Linked DNA regions of Homo sapiens: region 1 is linked to region 2. Evidence: promoter capture Hi-C in 16 types of primary human blood cells and fetal thymus (Javierre and others, 2016). All regions are on one chromosome and are shown on one strand. Each heading gives the region's core, a stretch centred on a gene start or on the middle of the fragment in contact. The rest is flanking DNA. Distances are from core to core; before and after follow the strand shown. Region 1 overlaps CLPTM1 (CLPTM1 regulator of GABA type A receptor forward trafficking). Region 2 holds the start of MARK4 (microtubule affinity regulating kinase 4).

The links. Contacts are between HindIII fragments. The CHiCAGO score rates a contact against its expected background, and 5 or more counts as called.
Region 1: a contact is called between a fragment that was not itself captured here and the fragment with the promoter of MARK4 in region 2, in 1 of 17 cell types (M0 macrophages). The highest score is 6.6, in M0 macrophages.

Annotation. Positions count from the first base shown.
Region 1 is chr19:44,967,044-44,972,998 of GRCh38, forward strand. All of the region lies in intron 2 of CLPTM1 (CLPTM1 regulator of GABA type A receptor forward trafficking), which reads left to right. Among named protein-coding and RNA genes, the nearest start is that of CLPTM1, 15 kb to the left of the region's middle. The HindIII fragment of the contact is 617 bases long and covers 3,714-4,330 here.
Region 2 is chr19:45,246,898-45,253,084 of GRCh38, forward strand. MARK4 (microtubule affinity regulating kinase 4) reads left to right here and starts at 4,374. Exons shown (of 17, transcript NM_001199867.2): 1 at 4,374-4,742. The coding sequence starts at 4,692. RefSeq lists silencers at 4,049-4,428, 4,659-4,808 and an enhancer at 5,282-5,838. The HindIII fragment of the contact is 10,557 bases long and covers 1-5,847 here.

The DNA.
Region 1 (5,955 bases), core at 2,772-5,271, 280 kb before region 2:
TGTTAGCCAGGATAGTCTCGATCTCCTGACCTCGCTATCCACGCACCTCGGGCTCCCAAAGTGCTGGGATTACAGGCGTGAGCCACCGCGCCTATCCTGACCCCATCTCTGTAAAAAACTAAAAAATTAGCTGGGTGTGATGGCGCACACCTGTAGTGCCAGCTATTAGGGAGGCCGAAGAGGGAGGATCGCTTGAGCCCAGGAGGTCAAGGCTGCAATGGGCCGTGATGATACTACTGCACTCCAGCCTAGGCAACAGAGTGAGACTGTATCTCAAACAAACAAAAACCTTAGGAAATATATAGTGAAACAGTGAAAAAAAAAAGTTCATGAGGCCGGGTGCAGTGGCTCACGCCTGTAATCCCAGCACTTTGGGAGACCAAGGTAGGTGAATCACCTGAGGTCGGGAGTTCCAGACCAGCCTGACCAACATGGAGAAACCCATCTCTGCAAAAAATACAAAATTAGCCGGGCATGGCGGCTTATGCCTGTAATCCCAGCTATTCAGGAGGCTGAGGCAGGAGAATCGCTTGAACCCGGGAGGCGGAGGTTGCAGTGAGCCGAGATCATGCCATTTTACTCCAGCCTGGGCAACAAGAGTGAAACTCTGTCCCAAAAAAAAAAAAAAACAACTCATGATCCCTGATGTAGTCACTGATCACATTCTAGACTAGAGCAGAACTGCCTGCCTGGTGTCCTCCAAGAGTGTCACACAGGACACTGAGAAACTGCAGGAAAGAAACCTCCCCACTCTGTTAAGTTGCAAAACTGACATGTGTGCCTCAAAAATTCCTGCCATGTGCCCTACGCTTCTCAGTCATGCGCCCCTGTCCCTTACCGTCTCCACTTCACCTCCCCTCCCCATGGCCACGTAAAGACTTCAGATTTTCTTATATATCACCTTCTTTTTTTTCATGCTGCAAGCAGCTCTGCATGAAAATTATTTTTATCTTTCCCTTCATTTTTACATAAGAGGTAGCCTGTTTTACACACTGTTCTGCTCCTTGATTTTTTTCATTAACAATATATCTTTGAAATCTTTCCACGTCAGTGCATAGGGAGCTTCCTTCAGAGAGACATTTTTAATACAAGTCACACTGTAGGCTAATTTCCTTTCTTAGAACTAGGCAGCATCAAACATCAGTTCGGGTGGGTGCTCGGAGACCATCTTGGCTGCAGTTCTTAAAATGGGATCCAGGGTTTGTTTTCAGGGGCCCATGAACTCCTTGTAGCTTGAAGCTGATTATGTGGGAATAGCCTTTCTAGATAGCGGGTGGCGTCTGTGTTTTTGAGCACATGTGGTTACCTGGAGTGGGAGGTGGAGCAGGAACTGGGTATATAAAGGAATGGGGTGGGAGGGAGAGTTTTGATTATACGTCTTTTCATATATTTAAAAATGTTCTGAACCTGTGACTGTAGAATACCTATTTGGGTGGGAGAAAGGATTTAATGTCTGTTTTCTTTGCTTACTCAAGTACATCAGGAAGCATTAGAAAGGTCCAGTCTCCTGCAGGCCTGGGTGCATGGATGAGGGGCCATGGCCATGAGCCCTCTGAGAGGGTCCACAGAACTGTGGGCGTGTGGATACACACAGGACGTTCTTCAGGGGACTGGGGATCTGGAATCCAAAAAGGCCTGGCCTTGTTTTATACATGGGGATCTAGAAGCCCAGAGGGGTTAGGACCCCCACAGCCACACACTAAGCCAGGGGCAGAGCTGCCTGGGGGCATCACTGCTTCTACACTCTCCCCTGGTGTGTTTACTAAAATGAGAGCCTCTGCTGGAGGCATCGGTATCCCCAGAGATTGCCAGGTCCAGACCTTCCCCAGACGTGCATATCAGGGACTTCATGGGGAGGTAGCGATGGCTCAGCTGGACCGTGGCCCCTAAGACCCTGGACCCCAGGGCCTTGTGGCTTCTACAGGCAGAGGCAAGTTCCTGTGCCTGATCCTGCCCCTGATCAGGGCTCAGCAGGGAGGCACCCCACCCACACTAGAATTTACTCATAGTGTTTTTCTGCTCCAAAGTTTTTTGTATGCCTTTTTCCTATGATTAAAATAACAGTAATAGCTAACACTTCTCAGTCACTTACTGGGTATGCACCAGGCTCCATTCTGAGGTACGTGTGCGTGTGTCAGATGTATATACACGCTATATAAACATATATATAATTTAATGTGTTTAATGCTTATAAACTACCCTATGAGAGTAGGCACTGTTATTATCCCCATTTCAACCATTGAAGTTGACCACTGAGGTCACAGTAAGTAGCAGAGCTGGGCTTCAGATGAAGATACTGTAGTTTAGAGGCTGGGCTCATAACCTCTTCTGCTGTATGGTTATCATACCTATAATTAATAAGTACTTGAATCATTTAATCACATGGCTGCATGCAGCTGAGAAACCTCCATTAACACAGTACAGGTTCATTTCTCTCTGATATACCAGTCTGGATGGAGGCAGACTAGGATTCTGCAGTCTTCAGTGACCCAGACTCCTTGCTGTTTGTTGTGCCATTGCTAGGTTTTTCCCTTTATCCTCATAGCCCAAGACAGCTGCTGAAGATTCAGCCATCACATCCACACTCCAGGCAACAGGAGAGAAGAATAAATCAAGAAGGAATATTTCTTCTCTTTAAGGACACTTTTTTTTTTTTTTTTTTGAGATGGAGTCTTACTCTGTCACCCAGACTGGAGTCCAGTGGCATGATCTCGGCTCACTGCGACCTCCACCTCCCAGGTTCAAGCGATTCTTTTGCCTCCGCCTACCAAGTAGCTGGGATTACAGGCGCCCGCCACCACGCCCGGCTAATTTTTGTATTTTTAGTAGAGATGGGGTTTCACCATGTTGGCCAGGTTGGTCTCGAACTCCTGACCTCAAGTGTTGGCTTCCCAAAGTGCTGGGATTATAGGTGTAAGCCACCACGCCCAGCCTCGTTTTGGTTTTGGTATCTGTTGTTGCTGCTGATTCTCGCTCATAATGTCGTTTCCTTTTGTGCCTGGCTTATCTCTGTCTGTGTCCTAGTCATTATACTTGAAAAGTTATTTGTAGGAATTTCAGGGCTAGGATGAGCATATTTTCCTACAGAGAGGATTGCCTTTGCTTCTGCCTGGGGGCATTACCAAGTCCTAGGTTTCCTTGCACCAGGTTCAGGGCTTGAGCTGCCCTTCGTGACTCCTTATCCCACGAGTGGCCTTGCATACTTCGCCCTGCATACCTGTTGTGCAACTCCTGGGAATGGGTAGGCCACCTGGTTCCTTCCTTCTCAGGGGTGGAGGCTTGCACCTTGTGGGGTCTTAGTTTCCTATAGGGTAGGTCTCTGGTTACCTCATATGTTGTATGTGCCCTGGGCTAGCATTTTTTTTTTTTTTTTTGAGACAGGGTCTCACTCTGTTGCCCAGGCTGGAGTGCAGTGGCATGATCGTGGTTCACTGCAGCCTCGACCTCCTGGGCTCAGGTGATTCTCCCACCTCAGCCTCCTGAGTAGCTGGGAATATAGGCATGGTGCGTGCTGCCATGCCTGGCTAATTTTTGTATTTTTTGTAGAAACTGTGTGTTGCCCAGGCTGGTCTCAAACTCCTGGGCTCAAGCAATCCACCTACCTCAGCCTCCCAGCGTGCTGGGGTTACAGGTGTGAGCCACCGCGCCCAGCCTAGGCCAGCATTTTTGTCACCCACCAAAACACCTAGCAGATGTCCTCGGACACATGAAGAAGCTTATAGGGCTCCTTTACTTATTCTTTTTTTTTTTTTCCCCTAGACCTGCAAATCCAAGATCCTTTACTTCTTTTTTTTTTTTTCCTTGAGATGGACTTTTTGCTCTTGTTGCCCAGGCTGGAGTGCCATGGCACGATCTCGGTTCACTGCAACCTCCTTCTCCTGGGTTCAAGCGATTCTCCTGCCCCAGCTTCCCGAATAGCTGGGATTACAGGCATGCACCACCACTCCTGGCTAATTTTTGTATTTTTAGTAGAGATGGGGTTTCACCATGTTGGCCAGGCTGGTCTTGAACTCCTGACCTCAGGTGATCCACCCACCTCGGCCTCCCAAAGTGCTGGGATTACAGGCTTGAGCCACCGCGCCCGGCCGATCCTTTACTACTTTAGGATTCCCACTTTCCCTTCAGTTTTTGCCTGAAGGTTTGGTAACCTACAGTCGTGTCCATTCTTCAGAGCTGTCTATTTATATATATTCATATGTAAACTTGATAAAAATTACATGCATGAGAACAAATACGAGAATACGTGAGCAGCATATATTCTCATTCTATCAATATGTATAATTACAAATATAAAATATATTGATATTTTCTTAGTGTATTAATTTTATCAAGCTTTTCCAATTTTTTCCAGTGAGAGGGTTGGTCTGAATAATTAAGCCCACTGTTACTAAAATTGGAACTAACGTATCACTTACTATCTGCTTCTCCAAAAATTCTCCAAAAGTTCAGAAATGTTGCTCTTTCTAAGCTTCTGTGCCTTCGGTTCTTTTCCTTTTCTTTTTTAAAAAATTTAATTAATTAATTGATTAATTTTTTTGGGACAAGCTCTCTATCTCCCAGGCTGGAGTGCAGTGGCGCAATCACGTCTCACTGCAGCCTTGACCGTCAGGGCTCAAGTGACTCTCTCACCTCAGTCCCCCAAGTAGCTGGGACTACAGGCATGGGCCACCATGCCCAGCTAATTTTTATATTTTTTGTAGAGACGGGATTTCATCATGTTGCCCAGGCTGGTCTCAAACTTTTGAGCTCAAGCAATCCGCCTGCCTCAGCTTCCCAAAGTGCTGGGATTACAAGCATGAGCTGCTACACCTGACCCAATTATACTTTTTTTTTTTTTTTTTTTTTTGAGATGGAGTCTCACTCTGTTGCAAGGCTGGAGGGCAGTGGCGCAATCTCGGCTCACTGCAACCTACGCCTCCCGGGTTCAAGTGATTCTCCTGCCTCAGCCTCCCAAGTAGATGGGACTAGAGGCACGCACCACCAGGCCCAGTTAATTTTTGTATTTTTAGTAGAGACAGGGTTTCACCATGTTGGCCACGATGATCTCGATTTCTTGACCTCGTGATTTGCCCACTTCAGCCTCCCAAAGTTACAGGCATGAGCCACTGTGCCTGGCCTCTATACTTCTTAAGTTATTTTAAAATGTGTAATTAAATTACTATTGACTAGAGTTGCCGTGTTTTGCTACCAAATACTAGATCTCATTCATTCTTTTTTTTTTTGAGATGGAGTCTCGCTCTGTTGCCCAGGCTGGAGTGCAGTGGCGCGATCTTGGCTCACTGCAACCTCTGCCTCCTGGGTTCACACCATTCTCCTGCCTCAGCCTCCGGAGTAGCTGGGACTACAGGCGCCCGCCACCATGCCCAGCTAATTTTTTTGTATTTTTTAGTAGAGACAGGGTTTCACCATGTTAGCCAGGATGGTCTCAATCTCCTGACCTCGTGATCCGCCCGCCTTGGCCTCCCAAAGTGCTGGGATTACAGGCATGAGCCGCCGCGCCCGTCCTCGTTCATTCTATTTTTTGTAGCCATTAACCATCCCCGGTTCTGTGCTTTTGAAGCGCTAGGATTCCAGATTCTTTCTTTTAAAAATTTTATGTTTATTATTTTTTCTTTATTTCTTTTTTCTTTTAATTCATCCATCTGCACACTGAAGGGGTTCCAGATTCTTAGTCTCCTCTCGGGGGATCCCAGGGGGCTGGATGGCAGGTTTCCCAGTCTGAGTCAAGAGTCAGCCCCTGCAGCCCTGTGGTCACCAGGAGCTCCTGCAGGATTTAGAGTCAAGGGTCTGCATGCAGACCAGGGCAGTGCCAGCTACCCCCACACACTGGCAAACGGTGGCATCTGGGCTCCCTCCCCAGATGTGGTCTTTAGGGACATCTTATCTCCTTGCCAGCCCTGTGACTACCTTCTCAGGGCCTCCCTGACTTGGTCACTAGCCCCAGGTCAGGCGCCA
Region 2 (6,187 bases), core at 3,124-5,623:
ATTAAGAAAAAAAAAATTTTTTTTAAATAAATAAAACTGGGCTGGTTGCAGTGGCTTATGCCTATAATCCCAGCACTTTGGGAGGCCAAGGTGGGTGGATCGCTTGAGGTCAGAAGTTTGAGACCAGCCTGGCCAAACTGATGAAACCCTGCCTCTACTAAAAACACAAAAATTAGCCAGGTGTGGTGGTGCATACCTGTAATCCCAGCTACTCGGGAGGCTGAGACGGAAGAAATCGATTGAACCCAGGAGGCAGAGGTTGCGGTGAGCCGAGATTGTGCCACTGCACTCTCCGGCCTGTGAGACAGAGTGAGACTCCATCTCAAATAAACAAACAAACAAATAAATAAATAAGATAAACTGTGTTCAAGTGCTCAGGCACAGCCTGAGGGGGATGCGTGATCACTGGCCTAGGCAAAGTCCAGGCTGGGATCAGGGTTGGGGTCAACATTAGGATCGGGGGCTGGGCTTAGGGATCACAGCTCCCTCCTGGATCCAAGGGTTAAGATTCAAAGGTCTGAATGCCCCAGTTGAAGGAATGAATTCACCAGACATAGGTTGTGGAGGAAGGGCTAGCTGGATGACCAGGTCGGGAGGCAGAGGAACAGGCCTTGCCCCCCAGCTCGGCCTCTGCACCGCGGACCCATGGTCAGCAGTGGCCCATCATGTACTGGGATCGTGCAGGATTTCCACCCCGCCTTATTTATTTATTTATTTATTTATTTATTTAGAGACGGAGTCTTGCTCTGTCGCCAGGCTGGAGTGCAGTGGCGTGATCTCTGCTCACTGCAACCTCCGCCTCCTGGGTTCAAGCAATTCTTCTGCCTCAGCCTCCCGAGTAGCTGGGACGCAGGCGCTTGCCACCTGCAAGCGCCCGGCTAATTTTTTGTATTTTTTTTAGTAGAGACAGGTTTTCACTGTGTTAGCCAGGATGATCTCGATCTCCTGACCTCGTGATCTGCCCGCCTCGGCCTCCCAAAGGGCTGGGATTACAGGCGTGAGCCACCGTGCCCGTCCCCCTCCTTTTTAAAAATTATTTTTTTTATTTTGATTTAGAGACAGGGTCTCACTATGTTGCCCAGGCTGGTCTCGAACTCCTGGGCTCAAGTGATCCTCCCGTTCTGGCCTCCCAAAGTACGGGGATTACAGGTGTGAGTCACCGCGTCCAGCCCCCTTTTTAAATTTTATTATTATTTTTTATTGAAATACAATTCACATACATAAGAGTCACCCTTTTCAAACAGAGTCCGGTAGGTTTTAGTATATTCACAAGGTTGCAGCAAGCGTCACCACTATTTAATTCCAGAACATTCTCATCACCCCAAAAAGAAACCTGGTACCCATCAGCAGTCATTTCTCATTCCCCAGCCTCCAACCCCTGGCAACCATTAATCTACTTTCTGTCTATGGATTTGCCAATTCTGAATATTTCATATGAATGGAAGCATACAGTAAGTGGTCTTTTGCGTCTGACTTCTTTCGCTAAACATGCTGTTTTCTTTTTTTCTTTTTTGAGACGGATTCTCACTCTGCCGCCCAGGCTGGAGTGCAGTGGCGCGATCTCAGCTCACTGCCAGCTCCGCTTCCCGGGTTCACGCCATTCTCCTGCCTCAGCCTCCTGAGTAGCTGGGACTACAGGCGCCCGCCACCGCGCCCGGCTAATTTTTTGTATTTTTAGTAGAGACGGGGTTTCACCGTGGTCTCGATCTCCTGACCTCGTGATCCGCCCGCCTCGGCCTCCCAAAGTGCTGGGATTACAGGCGTGAGCCACCGCGCCCGGCCACATGCTGTTTTCAAGGTTCATCCACTTTGCAGCCTCCCTCTCTGTAAGCCTCGGTCCCCCCACATCTGGGAAATGGGGTGGGGACGCTGTTGGGGAAGGGAGGGCAGGGGTGGACCCTGGAGTGTGTGGGGCGCGTGTAGGGAGGTGATCGGCTGCCCCCGTGTGGTGCACGGTAGAACTGCAGCTCTCAGCGCCAATGCAGGGAACGGGTTGGGGGCGCTCAGCCCCTCTAGCCTACCCCCAAGACCCCCACTTTCACCCTGCGGCGTCCCTGGGATCACAGTACGTCTAGAACACTACCCCGGAACTCCACCCTCTCTGCCACTGTCCCTGAGGCTCCTCGGGCCATATTTGCCAAATAGTAATAATAATGTCCCCACATATGAATTTTGAATCTGGTCCCCTGTGAAGCACTTTACTCAAAGATTCTCATTTATTTGTTAGCAGTAACATTAAAATAACAAATAAATATAAACAAATTGACAAATAAAAATAGTAGCAGCCTGAGGTTGCTGCTATTATTTTTCGGAGACAGGAAACCACAGTGGTTGAGAGAGGGTCCAAGTTCTGGAACTTGGGAGCACTTGGATTCAAATTGTAGCCCTGCCACTAATTTGCCGTGTGACCTTCAGCGTGTGACGTTTCTCCCTTCCTTGGGCCTCTGTTTCCTCATCTGCAAATGGGATTGATAAAGATGCTCCCTACCTCTTGGGGTGGCAGAAAGGAGAAACTGCTCAGAGCCTGGCACAAGGGCAACTGCCATGAGTCTGTGTTGCTCATAGTATCAAGCAGTGCTGTGCTTTCACAACCAGCTTTTGGCTGAGTGCAGGGTAGTCCCAGCACTTTAGGAGGCCGAAGTGGGAGGATCGCCTGAGCCTGAGAGTTGGAGATCAGCCTGGGCAATATGGCTACAAAAAATTAGCTGGGCGTGGTGGTGCACACCTGTAGTCCCAGTGACTTGGTGGGGCTGAGCTGGGAGGATTGCTTGAGCCGGGGATGTCCAGGCTGCGGTGAGCCATAATCGTGCCACTGCACTCTAGCCTGGGTAATGCAGTGAGACCCTGTCTCAAAAACAAAACAAAGCAAAGCAAAACAAAACACCCCCAGCTCTCTGCAGGTGGGGGTGTGGAGCCTTAATTTGTAGCATTTGCCAATTTCCATGGTGTAAATATTCCCACCATGGCTAATTTCAAGCTACCAAGGTGATATCACATGGCATTTTTGCCCCCCATTATATAGTAATTTTACTGTGCAGCTACAATAGACGTAGGTAACCTCAAGATCACAGATAATGGCAAATGTAGTAAGATAACTAGGACGTGATGAGTATGTATTACTTGTACCTTTAATGTAATTTAATTGTATGTTTGCATAATTTAATTTTTAATAATGGCTGTGTTTAACAACCAGTTCCAAAATTCCTGAGACATAACAATCAGCTCGCTCCAGCCAGATCCAGCACACTGCTGTTTTAGAAGGGGAAACTGAGGCTCAGGAAAATAAGCCTCAGATAGAAGAAGGCAGGGCACAGACCCCTTCCCAAAACCATGTGACTCCCAGGCCAAGACTATGTAATGCCTGTCTTTCTTTCATCCCACCCTGGTCCACAGAGCATGGATGGTCCCCACAGCGCTGTGTGGCCTCCGAGAGGCTCTTGTCCTCTCTGGTCTCAGCCTGCCCGCATGGGGAGTGGCTGTGCCCTGCAGGCGAATACCTGCACAGGGTTCCTTCGCACCTGCCAGTGAGCAACACACGGATTCTTCCTTTCACTTTACAAACTGGGAAAGTGAAGCCCAGAAAGGGCAAGTGCTTGCCCCGGGTCATACAGGTGGACAGAGAGGGTCCCCACACCCCAGCTGGGGTGCAAAGGAGTGGATGCTGCAGCCCCAACCTGCGGGTCTGGATCTATGTGGCTGAGTGGAGGCAGCCTGACTAGGGAGGTCACTGAGCCCTCAGCAGTGGCCAAGCCCCGCACACCATCCCCTTCACCCACCCCACCCTTAGGCCTCCGAGGGGAGAGCTTCCCCCGCTCCCCCCCGCCAACTGGGGAGAGAATGGGCCAGGGGGAGGGACAATGTGGGCAGCGCCTCTGGGGTCTTCTCTGGCTCAGTCCCTTTATCTCTATCTCTTCACAGATCTCTGCGTCTCTGTATCTCTTTGTCTCTCCCTGTGTGTGTGTGGGGTCTCTCTCAGTCTTTGTCCCTCTGCGTCTCTGGGTCTCTCTGTCTCTGTCTCCCTGCGTCTCTCTCTCTCTGTCATCTGGCTCTTCCTTCATCTCCTTGCGCCTCTCCACCCTTTTGTAACTCGTCTCTCTCTCTTCGTGTCTCTCTATCTCTACGTCTCTCGATCTCTCTCTCTGCGTCTCTGGCGCTCTGCCCCGGCCTCTCTCTCCCCTTCTCTCCTCTCCAGTGCGCCTCTCGTCTCGGGCGAGAACACGCTCCCCGCCGGCGTGCCCAGACCCGCCTCCGCCCCCGGAGCCCCCGGAGCCCCCGGCGCCCCGACCAGCCCGGGCCTGCGCCTTTAAGGGCCGGCGGCGGGGGGCGGGGTCCCGGCGCCCCGCCCTGCCCGCCCCTCCCCCTGACGTCCCTTCCTCCCTCCCCAGCCCCTCCACCGCCTCCCTCCGCCGCCGCTTGGGCCGGCTCCGCGCCCCCTCCGCGGCCCCCGCCCGCCCGCCTGCCCGCCGCCCCCATGGCGCCCGGGGTCCCCGCTGCACGGGGCCACTAGGACCCTCGGCGTCCCTTCCCCTCCCCCGCCCTGCCCCCTCTCCCGCCGCGCGGACCCGGGCGTTCTCGGCGCCCAGCTTTTGAGCTCGCGTCCCCAGGCCGGCGGGGGGGGAGGGGAAGAGAGGGGACCCTGGGACCCCCGCCCCCCCCACCCGGCCGCCCCTGCCCCCCGGGACCCGGAGAAGATGTCTTCGCGGACGGTGCTGGCCCCGGGCAACGATCGGAACTCGGACACGGTGAGTGGGGCCCGGCCCCTTGGGGAGCCCTGGCTGGGTCCAGCCGCCAAACCCTTCTCCCCGTTGTACCCCTCGCCCCGCGAGCCCCTACCCTCGTTTCCTGGGCCCGACCCGGCTCGTCACCTCTCGACCCCTCCCGGACTTCCAGGCCTCTCCACCCTCCCCACCTTTTCCAGCCCAGCCCGACCCCTGGGGGCGCCCCTCTCTCGGGACCCCTCTCTTGTCCCCGTGCAGACCGCTTCCGCTCGGGTCTGTTCCCTCCAGGAAGCCCCTTCCCCTGCTTCCAGGAGCCCCTCCCTTCTCTTGCCTGTGCTAAGCCGTTTCCCCTCCAGGCCGTCCGCGTCCGACACCTCGCCCCCTCCCGGATTTGCAGGGCCCCTGACCCCCCAAGGCCCGGCCCTGGCACTCTCAGCAGGGCCTGGCCCAGTCCTGCCTCTGGCTCCGGCCTTCCCTGTCTGGGGCTGGGTGCCGGCTCCCCAGGAGCCCCCCTCCTCTTATTCCCAGCCCTCTGCCCCTCCAGGACGCACCCAGGGCGCCTGTGGGCAGCCCCTGGCAGGAAGCTGGTTTCCACCTCTCCTGGGCCCCGGCCCTTTTCTGGCTTCTTCAAGGTCTCTCCCGTCCCAGGCCTGGTCCCCATCTTCCAAGCAGCCCTGTCCCTAGATCCCAGCACCCCGGGGCCCCCAGATGCCACCTGGACCCTTTCTGGTCTCTTCCTCTCCCAGGAAGCCTTGGCCTCCAACTTCTAGGCCCTCACCTCACCCAGGCTGGTATTTCTAGGCCCTGGACCAGTCTGACTCCAGGCCTCATCCGCCCTCTATCAACTTCTCAGCTTCAGGCAGCCCCTTCCCCAACCCCCAACCTCTGGACCCCCTGCTAGGCCAAACTCAGACCCCTTCCCCACAAACCACCGTCCTTTCTCCTGCCCCAGGGCCTCCCCCTTCCTTGCTGGGAGTCTGGCCTTCCAAGGAAGCCCCCTCCTCAGCTTCAGAGGCCTTCCTCAGCTACAGGGCCTGGCCCCAGATCCTTCTTCCAGAAAACTCCTGGACCTGAAGCCTCTCGTCTTGCCCTGGTTTCAAGCCCTTTTCCCTTGGGTCAATCTGCTGGAAGCTTTCTCCCCAAATTTCTAGACCCCTTGACCTTCCCCAGGGCTCAGCCTTTATTCATCTGGGCTGCTCCTTGCCCAAGAAGTTCCTACCCCATACTTCCAGGCCCCCCAGACCCTTCTCTGGTTTCAAGGACTTCTCCTAGAAGCCCCCTTCTCTGATTCCTAGGAGCTTCCCCAAGACCCAGGGATTCCTGGCCTCTGACTTCCACTGCCCCCATGGCTTTGTCACTTTCCACCATTCCCAGGCGCCCCCTGCCCCTACACTGCTTCCCAGAGAGGCCCCTCCCCATCTCCTGTGTCTCTGATCACTGATCACTTCCAAAGACCTGCCCACCACCCA